3 separate regions of the Homo sapiens genome follow, and all the other regions are linked to region 1. The links are contacts of gene promoters, found by promoter capture Hi-C in blood cells and fetal thymus (Javierre and others, 2016). All regions are on one chromosome and are shown on one strand. The core of a region is centred on a gene start or on the middle of the fragment in contact, and the rest is flanking DNA. Distances in the headings are between cores, read along the strand shown.

Region 1 (2,685 bases), core at 1-2,500:
GCAGCTGCCGCAGCAGATGGTGGCGTCGCCGCCGTCGAAGCGCTCGGGACACTGGAAGCCGATGCGCCAGACGCCCTGCGCGTCCAGCCAGCCGTGGCAGTACTCGCCGCTGGCCCTCGCCCCCGCCGCCAGCAGCGCAGCCAGCAGCAGCTGCAGGAGCGAAGCGGCGTTCCAGGATGAGGAGACGGACGAGCGGCGAGCGCCCCACATGGCACCACCCTGGGCGCGGACAGCGCGTCTCCAGAGAGCGCAGGACGGTCTCCGAGAAGTCGTGGCCCCGGCGACCCCCGGGCCTCGTCACTGACTGTCCCGCGGCGCTTTCCGCGCGGGCCACTCCCCTCTGCCGCGACGCCCAGGAGGCGACGACGCCGGGCCCTAGGTCCAGGAGCTCCTAAGCCATCCCCGTCCTCAGCCGGTGGCCCGGTCCCCTTAGGGACTGCCTTATGAGTTGCACTCGCTGATGGAAATCTCGGGATGCAGTCAGAAGGCCCCCGGGGCTGTCGTCCGGAAGCCTCTGGAGGTTTCACTGGCAACCGGACCCTCCCTGAGCATCCCCGAAGGGATGCTCACTCGAGCCGAATGACCGCTGGGCGCGCCGCCGCGGACCTGGAGCCAGGGCTCTGCGCAGGGTTTAAGCCTCAGGGTCCCGCGCGCGAATCAGGGCCCGTCTCCCCTCCTTTATTCCCTCCTCGGGCGGGTAGAAGGGGCGAAGGCGGGCAGTGCACGCAAGGCTCTGGGCAGCAAGTGACGCAGCCGGCCGCGCTCAGCCTCCTCTGCCCCGAACTTGGTCCGCATGGCTCCGGCCGGGCCGCCCGGGCAGCCCACGGGGGTGCAGCCCCGACGCTCCACTCGGCGGGGCCGACGGCCAATCTTCCCAGCACGTCGCCGAGGGAGCGCTCCTGACCCCGGGAACGTCCAGGACGCAGGCGAGGGTCCTGCGCGCCCCCAGCCGCAGTCCCGGGAGCCTGCCCAGCTGGCGGCGGCCGCGGCTGCTGCTGGGCGCGGATCCAGGCGGGCGGCTCGCCCCGGTTCCCCTTCTCCGCCTCCCCGGCTGCAGCGCGGTCCCACAGGAGCCCGGCAGCCTCCGGCCGGCTCTCCCTCTCCCGGTCGCTGCCTCGCCCTCGGGAGGTGTGCGCACCGATGGAAGCCTCCCACGGAAGTTTCTTTCCTCCGGGCTACGGGAGAAGCCGAGCGCAGCAGCCGCCCACAGCCTCGCCTCGCCCCGCCCGGCGCCAGACCAGCTCCGACTCCGCTCGCTGCCGCGCTGAGCCGCGCTCTTATAGAGGCCGGCGGCTCCCCGGCGCGCATGCGCGCTGCGCGGCTCCCCCCCACCCCCGACCTCAGGGACGCCCGCGGGCGCCGGGCAGCCCCTCACTTTCCTACCCCGGGCAAGGAGAAAGGTGTGGCCAAGGGCGGGGTCTGCCTGCTGGAATAGGCGCGGGAGGAAACCCAACCTAAGCAATCCAGGCCTCGCTAACACAAATAACAATAATAACGGAAGAAACTCAACTTGCTTTGTGAAGATCTTTGGCATTCAACATTCGGTTCGATTCTGCAAACTTCTCAAGGGATTATGATTACTTTCCACTCTGCAGATCATAAAATCGCCACTCAGATGAACTCTCTCGGCTTCCAGCAGCTGATGTCCTGGCCACGGTTGGTCCCAGGCCCTGTGCAGGAAGAGCACCGATGTTTGTGGCAGGGTTCACACGCCTAGGGCTGTGTTTGGTGGACTGGAGGCCTCCACCACAAGGTGGAACGGAGAGAGTTCAGCAAAGATGTCACACATTCGGCCACGGTGTGGATGATCTGTGTCCCTTTTTCTTTCTATATTTGGGTGTGGTGATTTATCGGATTCCAGCAGGAAAGTGCCTCCGTCCAACATGTGGCCTTAGTGGTTTAGACAGCTGCAGTCAGGAAGAAAACAAGGTTCAGACAGACCAGAAATTCAGCTTTGATGAAGGAGAAATTAATAGCTTCTCTCTTGCAGAAGCTGGAACAACAGGTGCTGATGTTATTAAAGCAGCAGTGCTTATTTTTAAAGGAACGAATGCCCCTTCCCACACCGTCTGGGAGTCAGCAGACCTGAATTCTAGACCCAGCCCTACTAGCAGGGAATCACTGCGTTTTTCTGGTCTCAGTTTCTTCATCTATAAAGTGGAGCATAGGATGTGACGATCACTAAGGTCCCTTTCAAGTCCATGACTTCAGAACACAGGCAGTTTTATTCACAGCAAAGACACTCAGGTTCAAGCAGCCATTGGATGCTTGTGTATGCCTGGTTAATGTGAAGATTCAGACATTGTTGATTATTCTTCCACTTGCCCCAACAATGTCAAATCCAAGAAAAAAAACCCTACCCTATGTCCCTGCTCCCCAACACACACCTTATTCTTTTCACTAAACCTCTCTCCAAGCATTGCACTTTGTTTTCTTGCAGTTTTTTGGTTGTGTATCGTTTTAAGCTACACAAAATTATATACTTTAAATGCACTATTCACCAAATGTCTTAAGCTAGTAAGCTAAAAAAAATTTCAATGTCAAGAAATCATTCATTCAAGAAATACACGCCATGCACTTACAGTGTACTGTGCTCTGTGCTGGGTACTGGGACTCATCAAGAAGCCAGACAGCATGGCCATTTCCTTCAAATAGGGCCTAAAGTCTCCAGGGTAAAATACAGAA
Region 2 (2,685 bases), core at 59-2,558, 190 kb before region 1:
CAGCAGCTAATGTATTTCTTCATAGCACTTATTACACCTGACATTTTATCGTGTATCTGTTTAAGGTTTTATGTCCTGTCTCCTCACTAGACCACAAGCTGTATAAAAACAGGGACCTTCTCTTCCCGGTTTTCATAATAGTGCCTGGCATAAAATAGGCTGTAAGTAAATATTTGTTGAGTACATAAAAGAAGAATCTTATTCATTTCAAGGCTATAATCTATGTTAGAATCAAAGAGATGGTCTCCATACTAAACTGAAGTATTTCTTCATTGAGGCAGGCATTTAAAAGTGTTGCACCTGTTAGTAAAACAGTCTTAAGGCCAGTTCCTGAAAAGTGAACTCCTACAATTTTGAGTAACTATTTGCTAATACATCAGCATGTTGCCTTCTTGGGATTAATTCAGCCTTTCTTTTACTTTTTTAACTTGCTCCCTTCCTTCCCTTTTAATGAAGTCATGCCTAAGCTCCAGTCTGTCCTTGTCCCCTCTCCCCTAAGCTTTGAGACCGTTCCTTTTTAAGTCAGTGGCCATGTCTCGCCCCGTTCTCCCGATATAACTCTTACTTTACCCAGCAGCGGGGCCTCCGTTTAGTGCAGCCCGTGATGTTGCTTTCCTGGTTCATCTTCCCTTATCCACAGATTTACCTGGCTGGAATCGGGAGACTGTGTGTGCCCAGGGGCTGGATTCGGAGACCCATGCTTCTGCAGTTCCACTTATGACTCCATCATTATGCTGTTTTAGGAAAATAAATAGATATTGATTCTCTAATAAGAGTGGGATTGTTCAACAAGCATTGGGAAAATCTGCGAGCCCAGATATGTATGTATAGCAGCTACTGGTTGGAAATTTGAACACAAGCATCCTTATCTACCCAGCCTGCGGGCCACAGACCAGAACTGAGTATAAAAAAAGAATAAAACCAAATGCCACATGTTGTCTCTTATAAGTCAGAACTCAACATTGAGTACACATGAACATAAAGAAGAGAACAATAGATGCCGGAGAACTTGACAAGAGAGGGAGAGAGGAAAGGCTTGAAAAACTACCCATTGGGATGCCAGGCACGGTGGCTCACGCCTGTAATCCCAGCACTTTGGGAGCCTGAGGCGGGTGGATCATGAGGTCAGGAGTTCGAGACCAGCCTGGTTAAGATGGTAAAACCCTGTCTCTACTAAAAATACAAAAATTAGCCAGGCATGGTGGCGGGCACCTGTAATCCCAGCTACTTGGGAGGCTGAGGCAGAGAATTGCTTGAATCCAGGAGGCAGAGGTTGCAGTGACCCGAGATTGTACCACTGCATTCCAGCCTGGGCGACAGACCGAGACTCTGTCTCAAAAACAAAACAAAACAAAACAAAACAAAAACAAAAAAAAACACTACCCATTGGGTACTATGCTTACTACCTGGGTGTCAGAGTCATTTGTACTCCAGACCTCAGCATCACACAGTATACCTTTGTAACAAACCTGCGCATGTACCCCAAAATCTAAAACAAAAGTTGGAAGAAGTTGAAAGAAATAAGAATAAAGGAAGGTTGGCAGTGTCATCCAAGGAAACTAAGCCTGATATTAAAATAGGCTCTGACCACTCAGGATAAAAAACAGACTTCTCTGTGCAGGTGTAGCGGAGATGATGAAACAACTCTATTAGCATTCTGCCTTAGTGGTTGTTATAGTCATAGCCATCCTTGAAAAGAAAAAAAAAAAAAGGAAAATATAGGAAAACTGAGGCTTAAAATCCTTCTTCTATTTTCTAAACTTCTGTCATTGGAGTGCTTGCGTTCCCCCAGGTGATAGACTCCGGAAGCTCATACAGTTGCAGATGAGAACATGAGTAATAAATACCCCCAAAATTCTTTCCAAGTTCAGTCATGATGAATTGGTTTAATATGCATGTAGTTATCTTTTTATTGGTCCATAATTCCAATTTAGCAAAATGTAAAGATGAATCATAAAGAATACCTGGAAAAAGCCCCAACATCGATGGCACTTAATAAAGATAGATGAGTATGTTCTTACTCCTTTTTTTAAAACAAACTGGACAAAGATAAATTTTAATGTTTACAAAAATGTAAATTTCAGTGCAGATCAAGCGTTTGGTTGGTTGGTTGGTTGGAAGCTTGACTTTATTTGCTTCATTTGGAGAGAATATAAGATGAAAAAGTTCATCATTAGAAAGAGAAGTAAGCATTAGAGTCACAGGATGGGATTTTGAAATACTCTGTGAGTTGATTGATGTTCCTAAAGTTCCCTGTTTAATGCTCTGAGTTAAATAGGTGGCCATGCTCAGCTTCTTGGATGTTAATAGTAACTTCTTTGTTTTTCAGATACTGTGTTGACAAGTGGTCATGCTACCGACTATTTATTTGTTGGAAATATTGTTTACACAGTAAGTTTATCTCTGTTTATTAAGCCATTCTTAAACAGCTTATGTGTGGCTTGCACTTCTCTAAACCCTTAAAAAGGGCCTTCCTCATTATTATTATTTATTTCAAATCTTCAAAATGTATTTTATATATCCTTCAAAGTTCAGAATGGTTGTGAAATGCTTACATCATCGTTTCTGAAGGTTATGCCAAGTGAAGGTTTCTGGGCAGGTGGTTAACAGATTTCCCCATTCTTCAAATGACCATTTTACACCTACCTGCAAAGGAAAACAACACTCAGGAAGGTGGTATCTCCC
Region 3 (2,685 bases), core at 92-2,591, 170 kb before region 1:
AAAGAATTCAGGGCGAGTCCATAGAGTAAAGTGAAAGCAAGTTTTTTAAGAAAGTAGAGGAATAAAAGAATGACTATTCCATAGGCAGAGCTGGTGGGAGTGTAGCAGTGAGAATGAACAGAGGTCGTACCTGTCACCATCTTGGTTTGGTGGGTTTTGGCTGGCTTCTTTATTGCAACCTGTTTTATCAGCAAGGTCTTTATGACCTGTATTTTGTGCCAACCTTGTATCTCATCCTGTGACTTAGAATGCCTTAATTGTCTGGGAATGCAAGCCCAGTAGGTCTCAGCTTCATTTTACCCAGCCCCTATTCAAGATGGAGTTGCTGTGGTTCAAACGCCTCTGACAACCAGTACCTCAGGCTCTCAACTCTCTGAAGCACAGTTCCTGCCTTCCCATCGCCCCAGCACCTTCCACTCACTCTGTCTCCACTCACGTCCATCACCACTTCCCCAGGCACAGGAGCTTAAAACCATCAGCTGCCTTCCCACTCTCTCTCCCTCATCCCTCACATCCAGAGCAGGGTCATGAGTGTTCACTCCTGCAGCTGTGTCGTTTGTGTGTCCCAGCATTTATAGCATTCTACCACCGGTCTCCTTGCAGATCACCATGCGATTTGCTCCCAGAGGGCACAAGCCATGTGCACACATACTTGGTCTATGGGGCATGTGGACGGGGCAGGAGAGCAGAGGGCATTTGGCTCTGAGGACAAGAATTTAAGTCAACTCAAAGAATCAGGACTTTGTGTATCTTCTTTTGTTGTGGTTTATTCCCACAAAAGCGTATCTTAAACTCTCATTCTCTGCTAGTGACTCTTTTTGAGAAATGCTTTATCGAGCACCTGGGACAATATCTCCAGTGGTGTCACTAATTGAAGGTGGCTACTGAGAGGGACAGCAGGAGGCTCTCTTGGCCACTGGCCTTGACCTTAGAAGTTCAGGGCTGTAACCTAAACATGCTAAACTTTATTAAATATGCCAGCCAGGATCTTTGGTTACAATGAAGGAAAAAAATGGACGTTACTTAATAAACAGAAAAAGAATGCATAGACAGTTATCATGCAATCCATAGAATATATGAAAAAGCCGAAGAACCAGGCTGAGAAAGCTGGTAGAAGCCAAGGAGGCTACTTCGGACCACCTGATCAAGACCCAACCCTAGCACTGCCACCACTGGATGTGCACCTCTGCTGGCGATGGATTCTGGACTCCACCCTCCAAGTAATCTTTGAGGTGGCCAGTGCTGGCAGGCGCATCTGATGGACAAGCCCAGGTCTCCCACTGTGCACCAGCTGTTTCCTTTCTGCAGTGGTTCTTCAAGCAGATTTATGCAAACAGCCCCAAATGTGTTTTAGGACAGTCCTGGCGATACCCACATTCTCCTGCAAATAATAGGAGGAAAATGTCTTTTTCATTTGGCTTCCATAGGGGAAAGAGTTAGGAGGAAAATCCTAGACTTTTTCTTGAATATCTTCTCCCAGTGAGAAGACATATTTGCCTAACTCAATCGATAATTGATTAAGTTTAAGAAATTAAACTTTTTTGAAAATTCAGTAATGCACACAGACAAAGCAAGAGTTTTTCCCGTGAGAAAAATAAGGCAGACCTGAGCTTGATACACTTTAAAAAGGTAGGTGGTGAAGAAGAGGTGGCCTCCTAGACAAAGCCACAGCGGCGTAGGCCTGTCCATGGAGTGGCCTGTCCATGGGGTACTGTTTTGGGCACAGTGACAGCAAGGAATAATCAGTTATCAGATAATCCTAAGATCAGAAATTGACTACATGTAATCATACATAATTCGTCAGTGTCTAAAGCAATTTGAATAACAATTTTCCTTTCCCTCACGCTTCCAAGAAAATCCAGCGGCTAATCCATAGATGGCTATCTCTTGGCAAACTTTGCTTTTTGTGAAGTAGCCACATGTCCCATCAGATTAAAAAGTGTAATTTCTTTGTTTTCACAGGATACTGTCCAGTCAGGAACAACAAAAAAAAAAAAAAAAAAGGAAGAGGGGAAAAATGTGATTAGTATTATGTCATTTTATTAATGAAGGCACTGGTAGTTTCACACTTAAGTAAATCAGTTATTACAAGCAAGGAAAGTTGCTCTCCAGCCATAATCCTGACAGGCCTCAGGGGTATTGAAAGGTTCCAGATGACTTTTGTTTTTGCAGCAGAATTTAGGCATTGTGAACTTCTTTCTAGAACACAGGTCAGTTCATATAAATCTGCTGGAAGAACCTTTACAATAAGGAAATGGTATTGATAAGCTACCATTTTTCCATTCCCAGGAGCTACTATTTATTGTTACAAGTTACGTTCCCCTAAATGAAAAAGGCAACCTCACCTATCCCTTCATGCCCCCAAAGCTATTCAGCATAAGTTAATCTTTTCAACAGAAGCAGCCAACTTTTCTAGCAAAGGAATTTGCAGTCTTTGTGGTTTGGGTAAAAAGGTGGCTCATTTTACCAGTTTCTTGATGAAATATGTTTCATGATAAATTCAATCTTTCCTCAGAAAAATTCCCCAAATCTACTTTTCTGTGCAAAATTCAGCATGAAAGCCTTTCTCTGTTGAAGCAGCCAAAGATTGAGTTTGTGTAGACCTGGGCAAACAGTTTCAGGTCCAAGGTTAAGGATATTTATTGCTGGAGGTATTACATGTATTCGTATCCAGGAAGAACAAAA

What was found. Contacts are between HindIII fragments. The CHiCAGO score rates a contact against its expected background, and 5 or more counts as called.
Region 2: a fragment that was not itself captured here is called in contact with the fragment with the promoter of SHISA2 in region 1 in 4 of 17 cell types (activated CD4 T cells, naive CD4 T cells, non-activated CD4 T cells and 1 more); the score reaches 6.4 in activated CD4 T cells.
Region 3: a fragment that was not itself captured here is called in contact with the fragment with the promoter of SHISA2 in region 1 in 6 of 17 cell types (naive CD4 T cells, activated CD4 T cells, non-activated CD4 T cells and 3 more); the score reaches 7.6 in naive CD4 T cells.

Annotation. Positions count from the first base shown.
Region 1 is chr13:26,050,766-26,053,450 of GRCh38, forward strand. It overlaps SHISA2 (shisa family member 2), which reads right to left and starts at 1,251. Exons shown (of 2, transcript NM_001007538.2): 1 at 1-1,251. The coding sequence starts at 210. LINC00415 (long intergenic non-protein coding RNA 415) reads right to left here. Exons shown (of 2, transcript NR_146971.1): 2 at 1,511-1,907. The HindIII fragment of the contact is 15,847 bases long and covers 1-2,685 here.
Region 2 is chr13:25,857,866-25,860,550 of GRCh38, forward strand. It overlaps ATP8A2 (ATPase phospholipid transporting 8A2), which reads left to right. Exons shown (of 37, transcript NM_016529.6): 31 at 2,330-2,391. Among named protein-coding and RNA genes, the nearest start is that of SHISA2, 190 kb to the right of the region's middle. The HindIII fragment of the contact is 1,622 bases long and covers 498-2,119 here.
Region 3 is chr13:25,878,393-25,881,077 of GRCh38, forward strand. All of the region lies in intron 33 of ATP8A2 (ATPase phospholipid transporting 8A2), which reads left to right. Among named protein-coding and RNA genes, the nearest start is that of SHISA2, 170 kb to the right of the region's middle. The HindIII fragment of the contact is 5,179 bases long and covers 1-2,685 here.